Linked DNA regions of Homo sapiens: region 1 is linked to region 2. The links are contacts of gene promoters, found by promoter capture Hi-C in blood cells and fetal thymus (Javierre and others, 2016). All regions are on one chromosome and are shown on one strand. The core of a region is centred on a gene start or on the middle of the fragment in contact, and the rest is flanking DNA. Distances in the headings are between cores, read along the strand shown. Region 1 overlaps CFAP20 (cilia and flagella associated protein 20). Region 2 holds the start of KIFC3 (kinesin family member C3).

Region 1 (5,061 bases), core at 1,119-3,618, 320 kb after region 2:
TTCCCCTCCCCTGCCCATGAGCTGGAGATACTCAAAGAGCTTCAGAATCCAGTTACTGGCAATTACAGATCATAATGGTTCTCTGCCTCTGCAGACAACAGAGGTGACCAAAGCTTCAGGCCAGTCTTACAATCACTCTCCCAGGCTTTCCATGGTTGCTAGGGCAACTAATAAAGAACACCGATTTCTCTCCCTCCCCGCAATGTAAGCCTCAGGGAGGTGGGTCAAGCTGAGGGAAAAAAAAAATACTACTACTGGGATAGGGAGGGAGCTGGTGGATGCTGTATATTTCTATGACTGCTTTAAAAATAACATGAGTTGTATCCATTCCCTCCCCCAACTTTCATTTTTCTGGCCCCACCCACTCAGCCTGGCAGGCAGCTGAACCCTCAGCCATCTGGCATCCTAGCTTTAATGACACATGCTCTAATTTACATTAAACCATTAGAGCTGTCCATTTCAGCAGGAAAGTTCCTGCACTGGGTTAAGGGCTGGGTTCCCAGACAGAAATTAGGCAGAGGGAGACCCCTGTGGGGAGAACTGAGCATAGCTCCGACTCAGACTCCCAGGCTCCAAGGGTCAAAGGCTTCACTCCCTTCGCTGTACTTGACAGGGGCTATCCAGACAGCAGACAAGCAACTCTGGGCATACACCAACAACCCCTAAGTCAGCGTAAGGACAATTATGTGCACAGCTAAGAAAAGGCAAGTGTAATTAAAACCCATGTCTTCGGACGGGCGCGGTGGCTCACGCCTGTAATCCCAGCACTTTTGGAGGCTGAGGTGGGAGGATCACCTGAGATCAGGAGTTTGAGACCAGCCTGGGCAACATGTGAAACCCCATCTCTACTAAAAATACAAAAAAATTAGCTGGGTGTGGTAGCGCATGCCTGTAATCCCAGCTACTCAGGAGGCTGAGGCAGGAGAATTGCTTGAATCCAGAAAGAGGAGGTTGCAGTAAGCTGAGATTGTGCCATTGCACTCCAGCCTGGGTGACAGAGCGAGACTCTGTTTCAAAAAAAAAGAAAAACAAAACCAAAAAACCATGTCTTCGTTCAATTACAGTAAAACCTGACTCAGAATAATGAAGAACATTCTCCAAGTCAGAAAAAAAGTTTTACCACCTTTATGTCCAAATACACTCAATTCTACTACTGAAAACAGCACCAATTTAATTTTTATCAACAAGGCATGCTAACTAAAAACTAGAATGTAGGAAATTTTTTCTGAAGAGAGACTTTATTTTTAAAATTAGAACAGGACATGGGAATCTAACACTATCCAGCAACAGCAGAAGACTCTGGTCTAATATTTAGTCTTGGAGTAGGGGAGAAACAGCAGCAGCTGAGAGAAAGACAGGGTGACAGGAAAGACAGACAAAGGCGTTTTCATGAATTAATGCAATCTCATCTCATGTACTTTTAGGATACTATCTTGTTTTTTTTGAGACAAAGTTTTGCTTTTGTTGCCCAGGCTGGAGTGCAATGGCACCATCTCGGCTCACCGCAACCTCCACCTCCCGGGTTCAAGTGATTCTCCTGCCTCAGCCTCCCGAGTAGCTGGGATTACAGGCATGTGCCACCATGCCCGGCTAACTTTTGTATTTTTAGTAGAGACGGGATTTCTTCATGTTGGTCAGGCTGGTCTTGAACTCCTGACCTCAGCTCGCCTTGGCCTCCCAAAGTGCTAGGATTACAGGCGTGAGCCACTGCGCCCAGCCAGGATTACTACCATTAAGACCGAAAATTGGCTGGGCGCAGTGGCTCACGCCTGTAATCCCAACACTTTGGGAGGCCAAGGCAGGCGGATCACGAGGTCAGGAGATCGAGACCATCCTGGCTAACACGGTGAAAACCTATCTTTACTAAAAATGCAAAAAATTAGCTGGGCGTGGTGGCGGGCGCCTGTAGTCCCAGCTACTCCGGAGGCTGAGGCAGGAGAATGGCGTGAACCCAGGTGGTGGAGCCTGCAGTGAGCCGAGATCGTGCCACTGCACTCCAGCCTGGGGGACAGAGCAAGACTCTGTCTCAAAAAAAAAAAAAAAAAAAAAAAAAAAAAAAAAAGACTGAAAATTACAGCATGTTTTACACAAGTATAAGTGGGAACAGAACCTCCTGGTATTTTCCTTACAACCAGAAGTAATGTTTACATTAAACGTAAGAGTCTTTTAATAAATATAAGATTTGCTGGTCCCAGATGTCAAGGTAACATTAAAGAAACCCCTAATTTCTTCTAAGCTGTTGGTTTAGAAACTTACAAAAGCTTCTATCAGGAAACTGTATAGCCAGGAATACAGACCTTAAGAAGCTAATAATGTCAAGTGTGATAAGAAAGAAGTAAATTAACTTACCCTGAAGAGTTAAGGAAGGTCACTCTGAGAAAGGCCTTTGAACTGTGACTGGAGCCTAATGAAAAGATGGGAGTGAGGCTTGTGGGGTGGTGAGGGGCAGCGCCCAGCAGAAGGACCAGGAAGTGCAAAAGCTTGAAGGTGAGAGAACAGGACTTCCTTCAATTCAGTAGGAGGCTACTACTAAGAGGGGGAACCGGGTGAAGTGAGTCCCGCCTGGAGAACAAGTGAAGCAGGTGCCAGAGCATGGGTTATGTGGCCTTAGAGCCACATTAAGGGCTTAGGGCTGGGCGAGCCACGGTGCAACAACTAAATTCTTCTCATTTCAGGAGTCTGGTTTTACAGTACTTCCTATTCCTAGAAATCTGGATGGTGGGCTAAGTTCAAACATCTTATTTTAGTTTTGAGCAAATTCCTCAGTCCCTGCCATATTTAATTCTGTATGTCATTACTTATAAAGTACTAACTACAGTCATGCATTGCTTAAGGATGGGATTACGTTCTGAGAAATGCCTCATTAGGCAGTTCCATGGCTGTGTGAATATCAGAGTGTACTTACACAGACTTAGACAGTACAACATCCTACACACCCGGGCCATATGGTATAGCCTATTGCCCCTAGGCTACAATCTGTACAGCATACTACTGTACTGAATACTGTAGGCAACTGTAACATAATGGTACGTATTTGTGTGTCTAAACATAGAAAAGGTACAGTACTGTATAAACGATAAAAAGTGACACAACTGGATAGGGCACTGGCCATGAGTGGAGCATGCAGGACTGGAAGTTGCTCTGGGTTGAGTCAGTGAGTGAGTGGTGAGTGAATGTGAAGGCCTAGGACATTACTGAACACTTTGTAAACACAATACACTTATGCTACAATACATTTATTTTATTTAGTTATTTAGTTAGTGCTGGGATTACAGGCATGAGCCACTGTGCTTTAGTTATTTAGTTAGTGCTGGGATTACAGGCATGAGCCACTGTGCCTGGCCAGACTACACTAAATTTATTAAAAATATTTTTCTTTCATCAATAATAAATTAACCTTGGCTTACTGGAACTTTTTTACTTTATAAACTTTAAAAATTTTAAAAACTTTTAGACTATTTTGTAATAACACTTAGCTTAAAACACAATGTTCAACTGCACAAAAATATTTTCTTTCTATATATCTTTATTCCATAAGGTTTTTCCTATTTCTTTTTTTAACTTTTTAAACTTTTTTGTTAAAAACTAAGACACAAACACACACATGAGCCCAGGCCCGCACAGGGTCAGGATCATTAACATCAATCACAGTCTCCACCTCCACATGCTGTCCCACTGGAAGGTCTGCAAGAGCAATAACGCACATGGCGCTGTCATCTCCTATGACAACACTGCCTTCTTCTGAAATATCTCCTGAAGGACCTGCCTAAGGTTATTTTACAGTTAACTTTTTGTTCTTGTTGTTAAGTAGGAGTACATTCTAAAATTATGATAAGGCCAGGCACGGGAACTCATGCTTGTAATTCTAGCACTTTGGGAGGCTGAGGCAGGAGGACTGCTTGAGCATAGGAATTCAAGACCAGCCTGGGCAACATGGAGAAACCCCGTCTCTACAAAAATACAAAAATTAGTGAGGTGTGGTGGTGAGGGCCTGTAGTCCCAGCTACTTGGGAGGTTGAGGTGGGAGGATTGCTTGAGCCCAGGAGATGGAGACTGCAGTGAGCCCTGATTGCACTACTGCATTCCAGCCTGGGCAACAGCAAGACCTTGTCTCAGAAAAATAAAATACAATAAAATAATGATAAAGAGTATAGTAAATACATAAGCCAGTAACATAGTCATTTATCATCAAGTGTTAGGCACTGAACATCATTGTATATGCTATACTTTTACATGACTGGCAGTGCAGTAGGTTGGTTTACACCTACTCACAAACACGAGTAATGCATTTGACTTAACGAACAACTATTATGTCACTAAGCGACAGGAATTTTTCAGCTCCATGATAATCTTATGGCACCACTGTCATGTGTAAGGTCTGTCGTTGACTGAAACGCCATCATGTGGTGCATGACTACATATACTGTAACTCTGTTGCTAAGGACTTTATATACAGCTTCATTGAATCTTCATAACCGTGAGAAATAGACGAGAAAACTGAATGGTTAAGGACATAGCTAAGATCACACAACTGGAACACAGCACAGCCAGGATGCAAATCCAAGGTGTCTGACCACGCCCTAGCATTGAGGTTTTTCGGTAAGGTACTGTTCTTCTGCTTAAGGAACCTGCAGTCCAGTGGACGATCTACAATAGAAAACTGCCAGCCACAGGCACACCCATGAGGCTTAACTCAAGTTCTCAATGAAAAGAATGTTTAAGTTGAGATTGGAAGGATGAGATGGAGGGGAGGGGCTGTGAGCTTCAGAGAGTCAAATAAATTGCCGGTGTGACAAACACTAACGAACAAGCCATCTTCACAAAAGGGAAGCTTGCAAATTCACTGGTACTGTGAATACAGCGTTCACTTCTATGCAGACAGAGCCTAAACAAAAGTCAAACCAAATTTCTCAAGATTCTTCATAGAAACCGAACAGAAATTCTCTCTATATATACTCATGAAAGAAAACAACAAAGTTTTCTGAAATAAAAATAACTATAAATAGGTACCACAGTCAATATATACCTACTGGCAAAAGTCAAGGTCATGTCTAGCTAAAT
Region 2 (4,861 bases), core at 333-2,832:
ACTGGTTCAGAACCTGGCTCCCCTGTTTACTAGATGTCTGACCTTGGGAGAATTACTTTGCCTCTCCGTACTTCATTATCTCCATCTATAAAATGGGGAGAACACCACCTTATAGGGTTGCTCTAAAGATTAGACAAGGCCAAGTGTTCAGAACAATACTGGCATATACAAAGAGCTCCAAAATTTTATTTTTCAGTTACTTTGCTCCAGTGGTGGGTGAATGCAGAGGGCCTGGCTGGGGAAGAGGGTCTCTGCCTCTCTGGGTTTAGACCAGGACAGCAGAGCTGCAATACTCCCCCTGCCCTAGATCAGGGACATTGCAAAGACTGGGGGGACAGGCTGGACAGCTGCTCAGAGACTGCAGCAAGCAGGGCTTGGTCGCCCTGGGAGAGCAGGCAGAAGGTCAAGGAAGTTGTACAGGGAATGCCACCTCCCTGCACACCATCATCTATCCTGGGCTTTCCAGGGCAACCTAGATTTCAAACCCTCTGCTCCCTGGTGCCCCTGTGAACAGCAGAACTCACCACCCTGTGCCCCTAAAGTCCACTCACTGCAAATGCAGGGCCCCATTCTGAGACTGCATTCCTAGCAAATGACTCTCCCTGGTCAAGGAGACGGCTACTCTAACAAGGGCATGGGGAATACACGTCTGGGAAAGAATGGGTGCTCACCCTGTTCAGGCAGAGGAAAAGCCGGGGAAGGTGAAAGACCAGGGGTGGCCACAACCCGCAATCTTGAGACAGTGTTGGGGTATGGAGGTGGGGGCTGGGTGGCAGTAAATGGTACTCCAGAATTTAATTAAACACAGCTTCCTCTTTAATATCTCCCAGGACCAGGCCCTTCACTGCACCAGCCAGAGTTCTGCTCTAACTAGCAATGCTGGGCTTAAAGGGGTGGTCCTGGGATCGCCCTCCCTGCTGAGACCCTCACAACTGCTGCGGCTGTCAATGGCCCGATTCCTCACTGCCCGGAGGGCACCGGCCAAGGCCCTTCTTCCTAACCTCTGGGCGGGCGCACCCCGCCCCAGGCCCTGCCAGGGAAAAAGCGAACTCCCCAAGGGACGTGGTGGGAGGGACCCAAAGGCAGCCTTCCAGGGAGCCCTGGGGGTGGGGAAGACGCCAGGAAGGGGAGAGGGCGGCGCCGATTGACAAGCCCATCCCGGGTAGGGTCTGCGCTCTTCTCGTTCAATAAAATCCAAACGGGGTCCCGAGGCTGCTCGGATCCCGTGGGACACGCCGCCCCTGTGCCCAGCTCCCAGCAAGGTCCTCGACTCGGGCTGAACGGCGCTGGAGGGGACCTCGCAGGGCTGGGTCTCCCGGGCCTTTCCCTCCCCGCGCCCATAGCGGGTCCGGGCAGAGGGGTCCCGAGGGCAGGGCCGGCCCGGACGCGGCGCCCCAAACGGCGGGCCGGGCAGAGCCCAGCGCCCCGCTCGCACCCAGCCCGCCCGGGCCCCCCACTCACCGGCCTGGCGGAGGCAGGATCCAGGCGTCGCCGCAGCGCCCGGGGCTCGGCCCGGCCCGGCCCGCCGGCAGGAGGCAGCTCCACGCCGCCGCCTCCTCCTCGGCCAGCCCGCTCGCGCCCCTCCCGCACACTTTCCACAGGAAATGATTAACTCGGGCCGCGGCGCGTTCCCATGGCAACCGGCTCCGACCCCGGCGGGGGGCGGCGGCGCGCGCCCGCACTCACGCGCACTGGCGCGCACGCGTCAGCCCGGGCGCGCCCCCGCAGGTCTCCCGCCGGCACTCCCACTCCCACTCCCACTCCTTCGCGGGGCCTCCCACTCGGTCTCTCCCGCCTCCCCGCGTCCCGCACTCGCACTGGCACACGTGCTCATGCGTTCCCTGAAGGCTCTCACAAAACAGGCCTGCACACGGGCTGGCACACACGAGGCAGCCCACACAGCCCCACACCTGGTGAGCCATGCGTACTTTTGCACAGCCTCAAACCCGAGTGCAAAACTTCCACGCGAGTACTCACACATACACTTCTCACGCGGGCTCTCATACCAGTACGTGTCTTCCCATCCCAACACACACACAAGCTCTTACTCACGAGACAATACATGTACATCCCTTACCGTGTCCTTGCACGCGCTGGCGCACATGCACTCACACTGTTTACAGCGCACACGCTCTCACTCGCTCCACCACCTACTCGCTGGCCAGGCCGCCTTCTAGCCACAGCACTTCCTACCTCTGCACCCCCAGCCCCACCCCAGCAAATGAATATCTTCCCAGCAAGGAAGCTGCCTGGAGTCCCTTAAGGTAAAACACACCAATGGTGCAGCAGTTCCCGGCCTTGCTGCAGAAGGCCCTGCTACTGGGGCACCTAGAGCCTCAGAAGAGGCCTGGGGGAGGCCAGGGGCCTGCCAGCCGGGAGAGACAGCTGACCTGGAGGAGCCACTCTGTTCTTTGTCTCCCAAACAGAGGCAGCATTTTATTCCAGAGCCAGCAGCAATATTCTCCCTCACTCTCCACACCCCCGGGTGCGGAAGAGGAGAAAGCAAGTCACTCTGAAGCCAGCCCATGCAGGCTGACGGTTCTGCAGATAATCCCAGGAGGGCGGGTACTCTGTCCCTTCCTGCTTGTCAGGGGATGGCCCAAGAAGATCAAGGAGAGGACTGGAGGGGGTCGGGCAACTCCAGGTGGGTTCTATCTCCTGCTGCCGCCCAGGCGCTGGGCTGCCAGTCAAGAATCTCGACCAGCGACGGAGCCAAGGGCCTGGGCCTCAGATTGTTCTGGACGCCAGAGCAGGACAGTCACAGTCCCCCAGCTGGAAGCAGCCTAGTGCATGCTTTATTTGACAACTGAGATTCCTCAGTGAAGGCCTGATAGAGGGTGAATGTAACGCTCCTGGAATCATTCCCTAGAGAGTTAGATTTCCAGCTGAACACCACACTGGAGAACCCTTCCAATGGGAGAGAAAGCCTTATTTGGGGAGTTATGATCTCTGAATTCCTCTGCCTGCCCTCCAAACAGCAGTGATCCAGGGGACCGCAAGGGTGGATGAAGGCAAAATGTCTCTAGAATTCTGATTTAGTATCTATCTCCCTTGATTATAGTCCCTATGAGTTGATGGGGCGGGGGATGGGGAGGACAGAATGTCTTTAAAGTCCTGGTTCAAAACTGGAGACTTTTTCTTACTCAGGGATTGAGTACATTGACATTAACTGTAGGTCCTTCCCACCAAAGCCAAAGCCAGATTTTTAAATTAATAATAACATTTATTGTTCTTTTGCTTTGATTACAAAAGTAATAGATGTTCATTGTAACCATATCCCACACACTGGAGATAAATGCTGCCAACACTTTAGAAGTCTTTTTTTTTCCTGTGTACATAATAGATGCCATTATTGAAGCTAACACTGTGTCAGGCACAGCACTAAGCTCTTTATAAACAAAATCCCATTTAACCCTGAACACCCTATGAACACCAGTACTGTTTCAGGACACCCGTGTTTCAGGAAAGGAAACTGAGCCTCAGAAAGTTTGTTCACAAATGCAGTGTGTGATAGAGCTATGACTCCAATAGGTACTCACACAGTACTATCAGATGCATATGGGTATAACAACTTATTAAGATCAAAGCACCAGCGAAGGAAAAAGGAAATTGAAGTGTAAGGAGGTTGTATTTTTGGAATTCTAGCAAAACTCCGATTTGAAACGTAAAAACTACTTGTTTCATGGTTGTTGCATTTTTGAGACAAGATCTTGATCTGTTGCCCAGGCTGGAGTGCAGTGATGCAATCATAGCTCACTATAGCCCCGAACTCCTGGGATCAAGTGATCCTCCCACCTGAGCCTCCTGAGTAGCTGGGACTACAGGCACACACCAGTGTGCCTAGCTAATTTTTTTTTTTTTTAAGTAGAGATGGGGGTGTCTCACTATGTTGCCCAGGCTGGTCTCAAACTCCTGGGCTCAAGGGATCCTTCTACCTTGGCTTTCCAAAGTCCTGGGATTACAGATGTGAAGATGTGAATCACTGTGCCTGACTCAATTTTTTTTTTTTTTTTTGAGACGGGGGCTCGCTCTGTCACCCAAGCTGGAGTGCAGTGGGATTACAGGCGCACACCACCACACCCAGCTAATTTTTTATATTTTTGGTAGAGACAGGGTTTCACCATGTTGGACAGGCTGGTTTCGAACTCCTGACCTCAAGTGATCCCCCTGCCTCGGCCTCCCAAAATGTTGGGATTGCAGGCATGAGCCACCGTGCCCAGCATGACTCAGTTTTTTAAAAAGAATATTGTGTGGAGTCGGGGTCTAGCTCTGTCGCCCTGGTTGGTCTCAGAATCTTAGCCTCAAGCGATCATCCTGCTTCAGCCTCCCAAAGTGCTGGGATTATTTGCATGAGCCACCATACCATGCCCATCCCAGTTGTTGGAATTTAAGAATGTACAATGTCATCAGGAACTACGTACCAACTCCAAGGTCATTTCTAACCCAGAAACTTCGCTGATGATTTGCATAGGAGGCTGCCAACTCTCCTGGCCCCGGGAAAGGTGCAAGTTTTGCTGAAACCTGGCCATTCCAACACTGAAGTCCTAAACCCTTGAGGGAGGACTCTTGGGTTCAGCCTTAGCCTTGACCCTTCCTGCCGAACTCTGGCAGAGGCACAGCTGTCTCAGGGAGGGCCAGACAGAAGACAGTGTCCAGAACACTGCAATTCCACGCCCACATCCACCCCATCCCCAGGCAGGGACTAGCAGCGCCATCTTTGTGTTCAGACAAGATCAGGTGTGTTCACGGTGGTATGCCCATAGACTTTTTTTTTTTTTTTTTTTTGAGACAGAGTCTCACTCTGTTGCCCAGGCTGGAGTGCAGTGGCGCAATCTCGGCTCACTGAAATCTCTGCCTCCTG

The links. The method cuts DNA at HindIII sites, captures the fragments that hold promoters and counts their contacts. A CHiCAGO score of 5 or more calls a contact.
Region 1: a fragment that was not itself captured here is called in contact with the fragment with the promoter of KIFC3 in region 2 in 1 of 17 cell types (endothelial precursors); the score reaches 5.6 in endothelial precursors.

Annotation. Positions count from the first base shown.
Region 1 is chr16:58,121,568-58,126,628 of GRCh38, forward strand. The region is part of intron 1 of CFAP20 (cilia and flagella associated protein 20); the gene reads right to left. Among named protein-coding and RNA genes, the nearest start is that of CFAP20, 5.3 kb to the right of the region's middle. The HindIII fragment of the contact is 219 bases long and covers 2,260-2,478 here.
Region 2 is chr16:57,800,909-57,805,769 of GRCh38, forward strand. KIFC3 (kinesin family member C3) reads right to left here and starts at 1,583. Exons shown (of 20, transcript NM_001130100.2): 1 at 1,462-1,583. RefSeq lists enhancers at 526-1,202, 1,880-2,556. The HindIII fragment of the contact is 12,094 bases long and covers 1-4,861 here.